2 separate regions of the Homo sapiens genome follow, and region 2 is linked to region 1. The links are contacts of gene promoters, found by promoter capture Hi-C in human tissues and cell types (Jung and others, 2019). All regions are on one chromosome and are shown on one strand. The core of a region is centred on a gene start or on the middle of the fragment in contact, and the rest is flanking DNA. Distances in the headings are between cores, read along the strand shown.

Region 1 (7,253 bases), core at 1,487-3,986:
GAAGCTGCCCATAGGAGGCTGCACAGACCCTTGCTCCTCCTCCCCATTGTTTGATGGGTTCCAGGCTGGGGTTCAGCAGGCATGGTGGGGAGGGGCCCCACAGCTGGCCAGGCGTTTTCCCAGCCCCTCTCACCCTGCAGGTCCTCCTCCACCCCAGCTCTGAGACTGTGGGAACCAGACAGTTCGGGCTGTCCAGCCGGGCTCGCTTCCTCCCAGGCCCCAGGGGACCTGTCGGGGGAGGAGGGAGCAGCAAAGGCTGGAGTCCTCGGGGCTGCCTGGGCAAGGGAGGGCCTCTGGAGGGGAGAGGGCTGCCTGCCCAAGAAGGGGTCTCCAGCCCCCTGAGTGTAACCTCGTGGGACATAAGACACTCTAGACCACATGCCAAAAACCAGAATGGGGGTGCCCCAGCATCCCTCCCTCCTCTCCCTATGCCCATGATCCAGATAGGAGGACTGAGGCTCTGGGGAGGAAGCCATTCGCCTCTGCTCCTCCAGTGCTGGGGTCTGTGAGGACAGCGATGTTTCAGATTCCTTCTCTGTTCCTCTAACGAGGACCAAGAATATCCCCATTTCTCCTGCTTCCTCGCGAAGGGATAGTCAGAGAAGGTCAAAGGTCAGGGCTCAGTCACTTCTGAATGGTACCTAGGACAGTCACAGCCCATGCTGCTGGCCCCAAGAAATGCCGTCTTAAAGAGTCACCAGAGGACCTCATGGAGCTGGGGGCTCAGGGAAGCTCCCACATTAATGTGGGAAGTCCAAACAGGGGGTAGGTGCTGCCTTTTGAACCCTAGGTGCCCTGTCTGCACAATGGGTAAAGGGTGCCTTTCTAGCCCTGGCCTTCCAGGATTGCAGCAAAGCCCTCCCACCTCTGGGGGCCACCACCAGCTCTGCCCTGACCCTCTTCTCCACCCTTATGTCCTCACTCAAGCTGCAGGTCAGAGGCTGGAGGGTAGAGCCACACAGATGTGGTTTTGATTTACCCTCTGCCACCCATTTGCCCTCTGGAGTTGGAGCTGGCGAGCCTGTTTCCACCACTGTAAACGGGGCCAACTTTCCAAATCACACAGGTGAGATGATACATACAAGCCCGGGACAGGATCAGTGTCACAAATTGTCAGGGTTATGATGACTGCACCTACGGGGGCTAAGTCCCAGCATCTGAGACTGGAGAATCAGTCCCTCAGGCCAGCCCAGTCTTGCCCCTGCCCAGTCTCTCCCTTGCCTGTATCCTCCTCTCCCTGCTCCCCATTCCCTACCTCCCCTTCCTCTCCCTTTCTAGGAAACTCCCTGAGAAAGTCCCCAGCAGGAGAAAACCTCATGTGAGATATTCCCACCAAGGGTCTCTGCCCCCGCTGCACAACCCCACAGCCACAGCCACCCCCACATACAAGCAGGCACCCTGGCCCTCAGCCCCCAGCCATCAGGCAAGCTGACCCTCATCATCACATGGCTTTATTGGCCCTGAGAGCCACAGAGTAAATCCCAAGAGGCCCTGCTTCCCCTCACCCCCAAGTTTGTCCGGAGGCCCCAGGGGCCTGGCTGAGCACCGCTTCAATCCTGGCTTTCTGTGTGGTTGTCCTTGGCTCACCAGGGCTGGGTCCTTCGAGAGTTCTTCAGGTCCTAGAGCCAGGCTCAGCCCGGAGGGTGAGGGACCTGCAGGGACTGCCCGAGGTGAGGCTGCCTTTACTCAAAGAAGAACATTCCTGGCGTCCGGTATAGGCAGGGGGTCAGCCCCAATGGGTAGCCGGAGCCTCCCTGGACAGGGAAGCCACCTGCAACCCAGGGTTCCTTGTGGTCAGTTGGCAGGGGCAGTGGGGCCCGGAGTGAGCCTGGAGGGGTGGGTGGTGCAGGGGAGGGGGCTGCTGAGGCCAAGAGGTGCTCAAGGCCTGGGTCAGCCCCCATGCAAAAATTCAGTGCCTGCAGCCGACACTGGTAGCTGCTCCCGATGCCTGATTCCGGGGACAAGACGGGCGTAGGGGCCTTATTAAAACTCTCAGCCTCTGAGAAGCCGGCAGGAAAGCCAAACGCTGGGCATGAGGAAGATGAGGTGGCCACGGGGAGCTCCCCTGGGCATGCAGGCTTGGGCGTGGAAATCTCTTTGGGCTCCATGGGTGGCCGAGGCCTGCCATCAGTGGTTGCTGGGCACATACTGGCTGGCATGGCCCCCACCAGACCCCCAAAGCTTAGGCCCTTGGGATCTGGCAGCTCTGGTGGGAATGAGCACTGCCTGCCGGTCGTGGCGTTGGGGACTCCTGGGTCCTGGCTGGTCGCCCTGAGGGGTCCACGGCGTGCCTTGGCGGGGCCCCGGGTGCCCTCAGCACCTGTCTGCCGGGTGAAGCGGCGGCGGCGGCGTAGGAAGCTGCCGTGCTCAAACATGTCGTGGCAGTCAGGGTCCAGCGTCCAGTAGCTGCCCTTGCCTGGCTTGCGGTCATCGCGGGGCACCTTGACAAAGCACTCGTTGAGTGACAGGTTGTGGCGGATGCTGTTCTGCCAGCCGGGCCGGTTGTGGCGGTAGAAGGCGAATCGGCCCATGATGTAGCGGTAGATGCCACTGAGGGTGGCCCGCTGCCCCGGTGAGCTCTGGATGGCCATAGCAATAAGGGCGATGTAGCTGTAGGGAGGCTTGGTTGGCTCAGTTGTGGGGGCGCCAGGCCCGGGCAGAGGCTGCTGCTGCATGCTGGCCGGGCTGCCAGGCTGCTGGGACCTGCTGGGTCAGGCTCAGCTTCCAGGGCTGGCGTCCGGAATAGCCTGCCCAGGCTGGTTAAAAGGTCCACTGGCCCAGCCTCCCAGCCTGGAAAGGCAAAAAGGGGTGGGTCTGCTGAGCCATCCTCCCCTCCTCCCTCGCCCCACTCCCACAAGGCCCAAAAGAGGCGGGCAGGAGAGGCCAGTAGTGGGAAGCCGAGCAGCTGCCAGGGATGAGGAGTTGGGAAGGAAGGGACTGAGACCCTCAGCCCACGTGTGCTGGGTGGTGGTGGCTGGGGAGGGACAGGATGTGAAACTGAGCGGGACAGAGACAAAAACAAAATGAGACAGAGGCAGAAACATATGAAACAGAGACAGGGAAAAAAGAGATAGAGACAGAGAGAGGTAGAGACATCACAAGAGGGAGAAAGAGGGAGAGACAAAGATAAGACAGAGGCAGACACAACGGACAGAGACACCCAGAGCCTCTCAGACACTCACAGAGAGACACACAGACATACACGTACAGACACACAGAGACACACAGACATACACGTACAGACACACAGAGACACACAGACACAGACACACACACAGACACACACACACAGACATAAGCACACACACACATATACACAGAGACAGACACACACAGACACATAGGCATACACACAGACACACACACAAGCACATACACAGACACACAGAGACATACACACACAGAAACACAGAGACACAGACACAGACACACACACACACACACACACACACACACGTAGTATACGGAGAAAGTGAGAATCACTGAGCAGGCAGAAACAAGGAAATCCACAAAGCCAGAGAGAAAGGAGATACTGAGAGACACAGGTGCAAACACAAGGAGTGAAAGGAATGAATAGAGAGAGAGAGAGAGAGAGAGAGAGAGAGAGAGGAGAGAGAGGCAGGGCCTGAGCCCAGTCCCCCTAGAGTGAGAGAAGCCCCAGGGGCTTCTCTAATCCCTACCTCTACTCCTGCTTTTCCCTCTTCTCCCAGGCCTGTGGTCTACTGCCTTCTCCTGCGGTGCAGAGGCCTTGGGGCCACACCACTCCTACCCCATCCTCCTAGCTCTGGGGTGTCTGCAGGGAGGGGCACCTAGGATGGTAAGGAGAGCCCATGAAATTCAGTTCTGCTGCATCCCTGTCGCCCCCTAGTGACTGGTGTGGGAAGGACAGCTATCTGGGGAGAGACATTCTCCCTCCCAAGAGGCACCTCAAGACCTTGGCTGAGCCTCAGTTTCCCCATCTCTAACATGGAGCTGGTGACTCCTCAGCTGTCCAGGCCATGGTGGGGAGGCAACAGGTTCCCCTTACACAGAATGCAGCACCCTCATCAAGAGCCTAGTATGGAGTAGGGATATGAACATGGCTGCGGATTGTCACTCTGAACTGAGGCTACCCCAGCTGCAGCCTGGGGTCGGGAGGTCCAGAGAGTCAGGCCCAGAACAGTCAGGCCTTCTGGAGGAGGGGACGGCATCCTCTCTGCTCTCCCACTCCCAAGTCACTGCTCACCCACTCTGTACCAGGCCAGCTCACCTCCCCAACCCTACACTTACTTCTTCAACCAACCCTGCTCTGGAGGGCTTCATTGCTTCTTTTGAATAGATGAGGGCTCTGAGGCTCAGAGAAGGTAAGTAAATTCCCTGATGTCCCACATCTAGTGAGTGACAAAGCTGGATATGAGCCTAGGATTCTGTAATTCCTAAATACTGCCTCTTCAGTGAGGGGCAGGGGTAGCGGAGAGTCGCTGGGTCCCCACTAGAAAACAGAATGTGAACTCCAAGAGAGTAAAGAGCATGCTGTTTTGCTGTACCCCCAGAGTCACACACTGGACACTGGAACAGAGGCCTGGAACAGAGTAGGTGTTCAAGAAATGTCTGCTAAATGACTAAACAAACAGCAATTGATTGATTTCTGTCCTTTATCGAATCACAGTTTTCCCCCCATGAAGGTGGCTTATTAATGTATCATTAAAAGAGACTTACAATATTGGCATCTGTAAGAGGATTCCTATAAATAAAATCAGAACTCAGAAAAGAATAAAAGGCCTGATATGTGGGGTGGAAAACAGCTACTTTATTCCCATGGCAGGGTAACCAACTTTCTGGTTGTAGTCCCCCTTTCCAGTTCTCAGATTGCCTACAACGTACAGCTTGCAAAGACCAGTGGGGCTTGGAGAAGGGCTGGTCTTCCACGTTGACCTCTGCCTTAGGGCTGCATTTGGAGGTCCGCCTCAGTTTCTTCAAAGACAGCATCCTACAGGTGCTGGTACTTCAGTGGTTAGCATCCAAAGCCCAGGGTTCGGCCAAGTTCCCTGTTTTGGGATCCTTCCCAGCCCCCAGAATAAAGAAGAGAGACTAGCTGCAGGGAGGAGGAAGGTTCTGTAAATTCTAGGCCCCTGAGAGGCTAGGCAGTTTTGTTATGGCTTGATCCCACACTAAACAACCCTGATGATCTAATTATTGGTAAAAACTTTAAGCAAACGTTTTAATGGACTCAACAGCAGGTTAAGGCTGGCTCTGAGGAAAGCGCTATTGACAAATTGGGCTGTCAGCAAGAGATGAAGTCTTGCTTCTGCTCCAGTTGCTGCCTTTCTGGGGCCTCAAGATCAAGTTCAGTTTCCTGCCGAAGCCCCATGCCCAGCTGGGGGGCGGTGTGGCCTACTCTCGAGTTCCGGGGCCCCGTGACAGAGGAGTGGAAGGCCGCGATCCACCTCTGCCGTCCGGCAGACCTGGGTGATGTGCCGGGGGAGGCCCCAAGTCTATGGGCTTAGTGTGGGCAGGGTTGGGTGGGAGTAGGGAGCCCCCCTGTTGGGGGCTGCCTTCAGCGGGTACAAGAAGAGGAAGCGGCTCGCTTAGGATGGAGGCAGCTGCATTGAAGGTGAGTGATGCCATCGGGGTTGCCAGGGGTTGAGGACCCATCTGGGCGCTCGGTTGAGGCACTTAGAGTGCAGGACGAGCTCCCAGGCCGAAGCTGCACCTGCACCTGCGGGGGCGGGTGGGGCGATGAGCAGACCCTCTCCATTTCCCGCCTCGGATGTTCCCATGGGAAGTCACAGCCCTAGTTACAGCCCCATCCCTACCCCCATTTTCCAGGTAGGGTCCTACAGACCCGAGGGTGCTAGAAGTGTCAGAGGCAGAGCTGGGACTGGAGGGAGTGTGGGAAGGGCTGTCTGGAGGGGACTGGAGGGCGTGCTTCTTGGCTGGAGTGGAAGGAGTGACTCACGTCCGCCATGATGAGCTGCTCCTTGGGGTGCTGTGTGGGGCCCGGGTCCTCCTCACCGAAGCACAGACAGATCTGGTACTTTGGGTCCGGTGACCATCCTGCAGGTGGGCACACAATTATACGACACTGAGACTATAGGGACTGGGCAAGAACTAGGCAACCCACTGGTGCCCATCTTGTGCTCATTTCCCATGCCCAAGTCCTGTAAGCCCACATCCCATTGTGTGCCTGTACCCTAGGCCCACTTCCACGTTCCTATGCCTGTCCCATGTCCCACATCTGTGCCCACTTCCAGGTCTTATGTCTCTTCCTTGGCCCCTATGCCCACCCCATGCCTTTATGCCCAACCCATGCCCACTGCCACTCACCTATACCTATCTCGTGCTTGGTGCACCTCACATCCACCTTATGCCCTAAGCCAACACATGTACCGAAGCCCTATTCTTATGCTGCACACCCAACGCCTCAAGCCTTCTCCATGCCAGCACCCCATATACGCCTGTATCCGTATATGTGCCCCCAGCCCTCCTGGTGCCTGTATTCTTTCCCATCCCTGGTGCTTTTGTGCCATATTCTTTGTGTCAATGTCCACTTCATGCCCAGCACCCTTAGGCCCATCCCCCTGGGCCTGCATTTAATGTGCCCACTCTCCTCTGTTCATGTTCCTTTGCCCACCGCGTCCTTATGCCCCCGTTCCCACGCCACTCTGTTCCACTCCTCCAGCCGTCCTACCGCCTGGAGGAAGCCGCGTGTGTTCAGCAGGTGGCAGGTGCGCCTGCGCTCCACCTTGTTGGGCTGCGCCAGTACAGGCCCTGGCACAGGCGCTTGGTGAACACGCCCTCCGGAGCCACCCAGAGCTGCACACCGCGCTCCAGGTGAGGCGGCAGGCCCTGCAACACGTGGGCGCTGGGCAATGGGTCGGGGAAGCGAACCTGCTGCAACGTGAGGTGGCGGCCCCAGCAGGCGCTCGGCGGCCGCCCGCGGACTCAGACGACAGCGCTGGGCTGTGCGCCCGGTGGCTTCGCGCACCAGCGCTGCGGAGAGAAGAGCCACACGTGCAGCCAGCAGGCTGTGGGGCGAGAGAGGGTGCACGGGCTGGACGTGGGCGGCGCTAGCTCCCCTCGCCTTCTTACCCTCCCCTTCAAACTCTGCCGGACCCAGAGGTCGTCCCAGCCTCTACCTCGGAAATTTTGGGTGCTCTCTCCCTATCAGTGATGATAAGAATTCTAGTAATAATAGTAGTAAACAATAGCTTCCAGTATAAACGAACTGATAGTCGAGCTCTGCGGTTAAAAGCTGGGGCCATCTGTACAGT
Region 2 (7,253 bases), core at 1,197-3,696, 140 kb after region 1:
GTAGTTATTTTCTGGGGGGCAGGCAGAGACCCCAAAGAATACTTGCCCTGTGAACCTGTCCCAAAGGTGCTTTCTGACCCAGTGTCCCTCGGGGACAGGTTCAACGAGCACCAGGGGAAAGCCAGCCTAGAAGTGGGTCTCAGCTGTGCCAGAAACCAAACTTCCTTCTTACTGATGGGGCCTCTGATTCAAAAAGCTCCTTGAAACCTTCCATTGATCAAGTGCCCAACACTGAGCTGGGCGTTTTACACACATTACTACTTTCTGATTTCACAGCCACCCTGTAAATGGGTATTGGGCTGATGGGTCCAGAGACGGGAGGCAACTTGTCTGGGGCTACATAGTCAGTAAGAGATGGAGCTAGGATCTGAGCCCAGGCCTGACTCTTTCACCTGGGTTCTTTCCCTCTGTTCTTGGCCACTTTTACTTAAGAAGTTTACAAAGCAGAGTTTATAAAGTATAATCACTCTCTTCATTCATTCACTCACTCAACAAATGACTGTACATTAACGATGTGCCAGGCACTGGGCATGTAGCAGAGGACACCATAAACATGGTCCCCACTCTCATGGAGCCTGCAGTGCTAGGGGAAAGACAGGCAATAAATATGTAAACAAGTAAATGAGATGGTTTCAGGTTGTGATGTGTGTTACTTAAAAAAACAGGGTAACATGACAGAAAGTGACCAGAGAGGCTGCAGAAGTGCTTTGCGGGGTTACAGGCAGTGGTGAGGGGGATGGCTGGGAAAGCTCTCTGAAGAGGTGACATTGAGCTGAGATGGGAGAATGAGAGTTTGACAGGCGTTAGTGAGGACCTTTCTAGGCAGAGGCCCTGGGGTTGGAGTGAGCTTGGTGTGTTCAGGAAGCAGGAGCTGGAGCATGGGAGAGAGGGAGGGTGGTGGGAGAGGGTCCCCGGGAGGGACAAAGGTTGTGTCCTCCTGGACCTCAAGGGTCATGGTGAAGAGTTAATTTTAAAAGTAGTGGGGGCCGGGCACGGTGGCTTATGCCTGTAATCCTAGCAGTTTGGGAGGCCGAGGCAGGCGGATCACCTGAGGTCAGGAGTTCGAGACCATCCTGGCCAATAGGGCAAAACCCTGTCTCTACTAAAAATACAAAAATTAGCCAGGCATGGTGGCAGGCACTTGTAATCCCAGCTACTTGGAAGGCTGAGGCAGGGAGAATTGCTTGAACCCAGGAGGCAGAGGTTGCAGTGAGCCAAGATCGTGCTATTGCACTCCAGCCTGGGTGACAGAGCAAGACTCTGTCTCAATAAATAAATAAATAAATAAATAAATAAATAGCGGGGAGTGGACAGGCACAGTGGTTCACTCCCAGCACTTGGGAGGCCGAGTCAAGTGGATCCCTTGAGGTCAAGAGTTTGAGACCAGCCTGACCAACATGGTGAAACCCTGTCTCTACTAAAAAACAAAAATTAGCCAGGCGTGGTGGCGCACACCCGTAATCCCATCTACTTGGGAGGCTGAGGCACGAAAATCACCTGAACCCGGGACGTGGAGGTTGCAGTGAGCCAAGATCATGCCACTGCATTCCAGCCTGGGTGACAAGAGTGAGACTCCATTTCAAAAAAAAAAACAAGTAGTGGGGAGTGGCCTGCCCTTACCTAGGAGTTTACAAGATCCCCCTGCTGTTGTGTGAAGACAAGGCTTGAAGAGGGCAAGGATGGAAGCAAGCACCCCAGGGAAGCTGCCGGAATGAGGTGGCTTGGACCAGGGTGTTGACACCAGGGTAGAGAGAAGGACTTGGGTTCAGGACATAGCTGTGGAACATTAATGTTATCAGAGTTGGATGGGTGGGGAGGGGCTTGATGAACATCCCTTGGTGTAGACAAGAATCAGTTACTTGGGCTTGGGCCCATTTTATAGAAGAAGATTGAGGCCCATCGAGGAGCTGGGCTTTCCTGGAATCACCTTGGTCTCCTGACTCTTCACTTACTATTGTTGCCTGTCTCCCAGTTTTCTCTAAACCCATATAATCCCAAGTGAAACCTGAGGTCCATTGTGTCTTACCGGGGTCCTATCAGGATCCTGCTGGGCAGCCGTACTGCACACCTTCCAGGCGAGGGAAGCTGCCACGTAGGCAGCCGAGGCAACAGGGGAATCCCGTGGGATGAGACTTGTCCTTCCTCATCCCTGCTCTGGCTCAGGAGGCCATGAAGAGCCAGGGCTGAGTCCTAGATCTGGCACTAACTTGCTGTGTGACTTGGGACGAGTCCTGGTCCCTTTCTAGGTCTGTTTCTCATCTGTGAAATAAGGATAATGGTAGTCCCTGCTTCGAAGATTTGTTAAGAGGGATGGATACGTTCATATGTATAAAAAGTCTCAGCACAGCCTGTCATCCAGCTGGGACTCAGTAAGTGTGAGCTGTTATCCTTATTAGTAACCACTGCACACTGTCCCCCTGCAGACCTACAGACTAACTATGGGCTCAGCTGGGGGGATGTCCTACCCCTGCCCATCAGTCCTGGCTCTCCCATCTGCCTCCCAGCCCCACCCTGTTCACTCTGTAGGGATCTGCAGACCCTGGCCCGCATTGAGACTAGGGAGCTAGCCAGCATGAGGGTGGTTCCTGGATGGAGAGGCAGCGGGGGAGCCACTGGAAGCTGCTGTGTGTTTGGCCCAGAACTGTGAGGGGGAGTGGGGAGGGGCGAGAACACACACTCGGAAATGCTGAGACCGACAGATGGAGGAGCTGAGGATGTGAGAGACACAGACAGACAGAGAGAGACCCAGAGTCAGGGAGAGGAGGAGCAGGCAGGGGAGGATGGCCAGAAAACTGGCAGTCACACCAAGCCACGAGCTGAGCAACAAATCAGCAGATGGACCAAGCAGTCGAGGGACTAAAAGACACAGACAGACAGACCACCAAGTGGACCTAGCATCCAAGACACAGACAGACCACCGAACAGATCCAGTATCCAAAGCACAGACAGACAGACCACCAAGCAGACCCAGCATCCAAGACACAGACAGACCACCAAGTGGACCCAGCATCCAAGACACAGACAGACAGACTACCAAGCAGACCCAGCATCCAAGACACAGACAGACAGGCAGACTACCAAGCAGACCCAGCATCCAAGACACAGACAGACAGACAGACAGACAGACAGACTACCAAGCAGACCCAGCATCCAAAACACAGACAGACCACCAAGCGGACCCAGCATCCAGACACAGACAGACAGACAGACAGACAGACTACCAAGCAGACCCAGCATCCAAAACACAGACAGACCACCAAGCGGACCCAGCATCCAGACACAGACAGACAGACAGACAGACAGACTACCAAGCAGACCCAGCATCCAAGACACAGACAGACAGACAGACAGACTACCAAGCAGACCCAGCATCCAAGACACAGACAGACAGACCACCAAGCAGACCAAGCATCCAAGACACAGACAGACCACCAAACAGATCCAGCATCCAAGGCACAGACAGACAGACAGACAGACCACCAAGCACACCCAGCATCCAAGACACAGACAGACAGACAGACCACTAAACAGATCCAGTATCCAAGGCACAGACAGACAGACCACCAAGCAGACCCAGCATCCAAGACACAGACAGACAGACCACCAAGCAGACCCAGCATCTGAGACACAGACAGACAGACCACCAAACAGATCCAACATCCAAGACACAGACAGACAGACCACCAAGCAGACCAAGCATCCAAGACACAGACAGACCACCAAACAGATCCAGCATCCAAGGCACAGACAGACAGACAGACCACCAAGCACACCCAGCATCCAAGACACAGACAGACAGACAGACCACTAAACAGATCCAGTATCCAAGGCACAGACAGACAGACCACCAAGCAGACCCAGCATCCAAGACACAGACAGACAGACCACCAAGCAGACCCAGCATCTGAGACACAGACAGACAGACCACCAAACAGATCCAACATCCAAGACACAGACAGACAGACCACCAAACAGACCAAGCATCCAAGACACAGACAGACAGACCACCAAACGGATCCAGTATCCAAGGCACAGACAGACCACCAAGTAGACCCAGCATCCAAGACACAGACAGACCACCAAGCAGACCCAGCATCCAAGACACAGACAGACAGACAGACAGAGAGACAACCAAGCAGACCCAGCATCCAAGACACAGACAGACAGACCACCAAACAGATCCAGTATCCAAGACACAGACAGACAGACAGACAGACCACCAAGCCGACCCAGCATCCAAGACACAGACAAACAGACGACCAAGCAGACCCAGCATCCAAGGCACAGCAGACAGACAGACCGCTAAACAGATCCAGTATCCAAGGCACAGACAGACAGACCACCAAGCAGACCCAGCATCCAAGACACAGACAGACAGACCACCAAACAGATCCAGTATCCAAGGCACAGACAGACCACCAAGTAGACCCAGCATCCAAGACACAGACAGACAGACCACCAAACAGACCCAGCATCCAAGACACAGACAACAGACCTCAAAGCGGGCCCAGTATCAAGACACAGACACACAGACCTCCAAGAGGACCCAGTATTAAGACACAGACAGACAAACAGACCACCAAGCAGACCCAGCATCCAAGACACAGACAGACAGACCACCAAACAGATCCAGTATCCAAGGCACAGACAGACCACCAAGCAGACCCAGCATCCAAGACACAGACAGACAGACCACCAAGCAGACCCAGTATCCAAGGCACAGACAGACCACCAAGTAGACCCAGCATCCAAGACACAGACAGACAGACCACCAAGCAGACCCAGTATCCAAGGCACAGACAGTCCACCAAGTAGACCCAGCATCCAAGACACAGACAGACAGACCACCAAACAGACCCAGCATCCAAGACACAGACAGACAGACCACAAAGCGGCCCCAGTATCAAGACACAGACACACAGACCTCCAAGAGGACCCAGTATTAAGACACAGACAGACAGACAGACCACCAAACAGATCCAGCATTCAAGACACAGAGAGACAGATCACCAAGTGGACCCAGTATCAAGACAGACAGAAAAGCAGACCTCGTATTCACAGGATAGACAGGCTGTCTGGCATCCAGGGGACAGAGACTGAAGCTCCTGGCCTCTAAGGGCAGGCAGACAGGCTGACCCAGGATCACAGGGTCAGACCAATAGGACATAGTATCTGAGAGACTATGTGACCCACAGTCCAAGGGACAGGATTCCAGGATTTTGGAACTGAGCCAGGGACTGAGCCAGGATTCCAGGGCGAGACTGACTGACTAACAGACTCCTGACAGAAATGCAGGAATGGTAAATAGGCTAGCCCTGCATTCAAGGGACAGACACAATAGACAGGCTGATCTGAGCCACAGACAGAGACAATGACTCAGGATCTGAGGTCAAAGGGATGGGTCCAGGCTTGGGCCCAGGTTTGACTGTCTGAATGGACTGAGGTGCAGGCCAGAAACTCTGACCTAGAACCAGAGACTTGGGGTGACTCAGGAACGAAGAACAGGAGAGAGATGGGGTGATGCAGACGTTGCCAGAAGCTTCCTGGCTTCTCAAGAACATGGGATCCCCTCGTCCTTTTCCCCTCCTGCCCATTAGAGAGCAGCCCCCAAACTCTGGGGGACTGGGGGACACTGGAAATTTCCCGTGAGGAGGGTAGGATGGGCCTGGGGAGAAGGGAATGAGCTCCTATTCATTTCTCGATCCTGCCACCTGTTCACAGAGGCAGTGGGGTTCAGAAGAGACAGGTTTTTGGGTCCCTGACAGGAGGGATTTCATACTCTAGCTTCTACTCTTCTCTCTAGGTGTGGCCTTTTTGCTCCCACTTGTACACTTTTGAGATGTACACTCATCTGCTCTTCCAGTTTCTTCCCGGACAAGCTTCTTCTCTGAGCACAAGACTGGGGGTCAGTAAGTTAGATTCCAAATAGACTGAGGGCCTCTGTTTCCTCATCTATGAAATGGGGACAGCAGAAGTTGCGTGTTAGGTTAACAGCATGGACTACAGTGTCTGGCTCACTTCAGGCTTCACGCAGTTCAAGCCTGAGAGCTGTTAGAGAAAGTGAGGCCTAACTGGGCTAGAGGGGCATCAGAGAGGGCTTCCTGTAGGAAGAAGGTCAAGAATGAGTCAGCGAGGGCAGGAGGAGCCTGTGAGGTGTCCTGGCTCTTTGCAACTTCAAGCAGAGAAACCCCAGAGCCCTGTAAGGTCAGGAGGGAGATGCACACAGATACTCACATGTATTCATTCAGCAAATAGTCAGTGCCTACTCAATAATGCATCAGTGCCTATTCTACAGGCACTGATGCTGGGGACACAGGGGTGATCAAGACAGACGAGATCCCTGCCCTCATGGATTCACAGTGGGAGAATGGAAAATAAATAAATAAACGGTGATTTCATAGTGTAGGTTAAGATGAAAATAAGACAGGGGGTGTGGTAGACTAGAGTGAGTTGGCAAGGGTGGCCTGGGAGGCCTCTCTGAGAAGGTGTGAGCTGATGAGGAGCCAGCCATGGGAGGATCTGGGAAAGGGGTATTCCAGGCAGAGCAAGTGCAGACGTCCTGAGCCAGGGACAAGTCTGGCTGAGTTTTAGGACACCCCCCCCCCAGCGCATCTGGAGTGTCAGGAACAAGTGGGACAGTGGTTTGAGATGAGGTGAGAGAAACAGGCAGGGCCAGATGGTTTAGGGCCTGCACGCCGAGGGGAGAAGCGTGGGTTTTATTCCAAGTGTGATGGGAGGCCCTTGGAAGGCTTTGAGAAGGGGAATGACATGATCTGACAGGTTTTAAAAATATCCTGCTGGTTGCCATGTGGAGAATGGACTGTAGGGAGGCAGGAGTGGATGCGGGCAGCCACACAGAAGGCTGACGTGGTCACCCAGGCAAGATGACTGTGGCCTGCACAGGTGGTAGCAGAGGAGACATGGACAGACTGGGGATTTTGTTGTTTTTTAGTGATGGACTCTCACCCTGTCACCCAGGCTGGAGTGCAGTGGTGCAGTCATGGCTGACTGCAGCCTCGAACTCCTGGACTCAAGTGATCTTCCCACCTCAGCCTCCTGAGTAGCTGGGACTACAGGCACACGCCACCACATCGGCCAATTTTTAAATGTTTTGTAGAGATGGGGTTTCTCTGTGATGCCCAGGCTGGTCTTGAACTCCTGGGCTCAAGTGATCCTCCCGCCTTGGCCTCCCAAAATGTTGGGATTCCAGGCATGAGCCGCCACACCTGGCCTGGGGATAATTTTGGAGAAGA

Evidence for each region. The method cuts DNA at HindIII sites, captures the fragments that hold promoters and counts their contacts. A contact is called where the count stands out against the background at its distance.
Region 2: a contact is called between a fragment that was not itself captured here and the fragment with the promoter of FOXS1 in region 1, in 1 of the 25 tissues and cell types used here (lymphoblastoid cells).

Annotation. Positions count from the first base shown.
Region 1 is chr20:31,842,868-31,850,120 of GRCh38, forward strand. It overlaps FOXS1 (forkhead box S1), which reads right to left and starts at 2,737. Exons shown (of 1, transcript NM_004118.4): 1 at 1,436-2,737. The coding sequence starts at 2,675. The coding sequence ends at 1,683. It also overlaps a transcript of DUSP15 not described here. RefSeq lists an enhancer at 2,121-2,678. The HindIII fragment of the contact is 12,044 bases long and covers 356-7,253 here.
Region 2 is chr20:31,982,681-31,989,933 of GRCh38, forward strand. The region is part of intron 1 of XKR7 (XK related 7); the gene reads left to right. Among named protein-coding and RNA genes, the nearest start is that of XKR7, 18 kb to the left of the region's middle. RefSeq lists a silencer at 5,337-5,537 and enhancers at 5,407-6,241, 6,242-7,075. The HindIII fragment of the contact is 6,526 bases long and covers 1-5,709 here.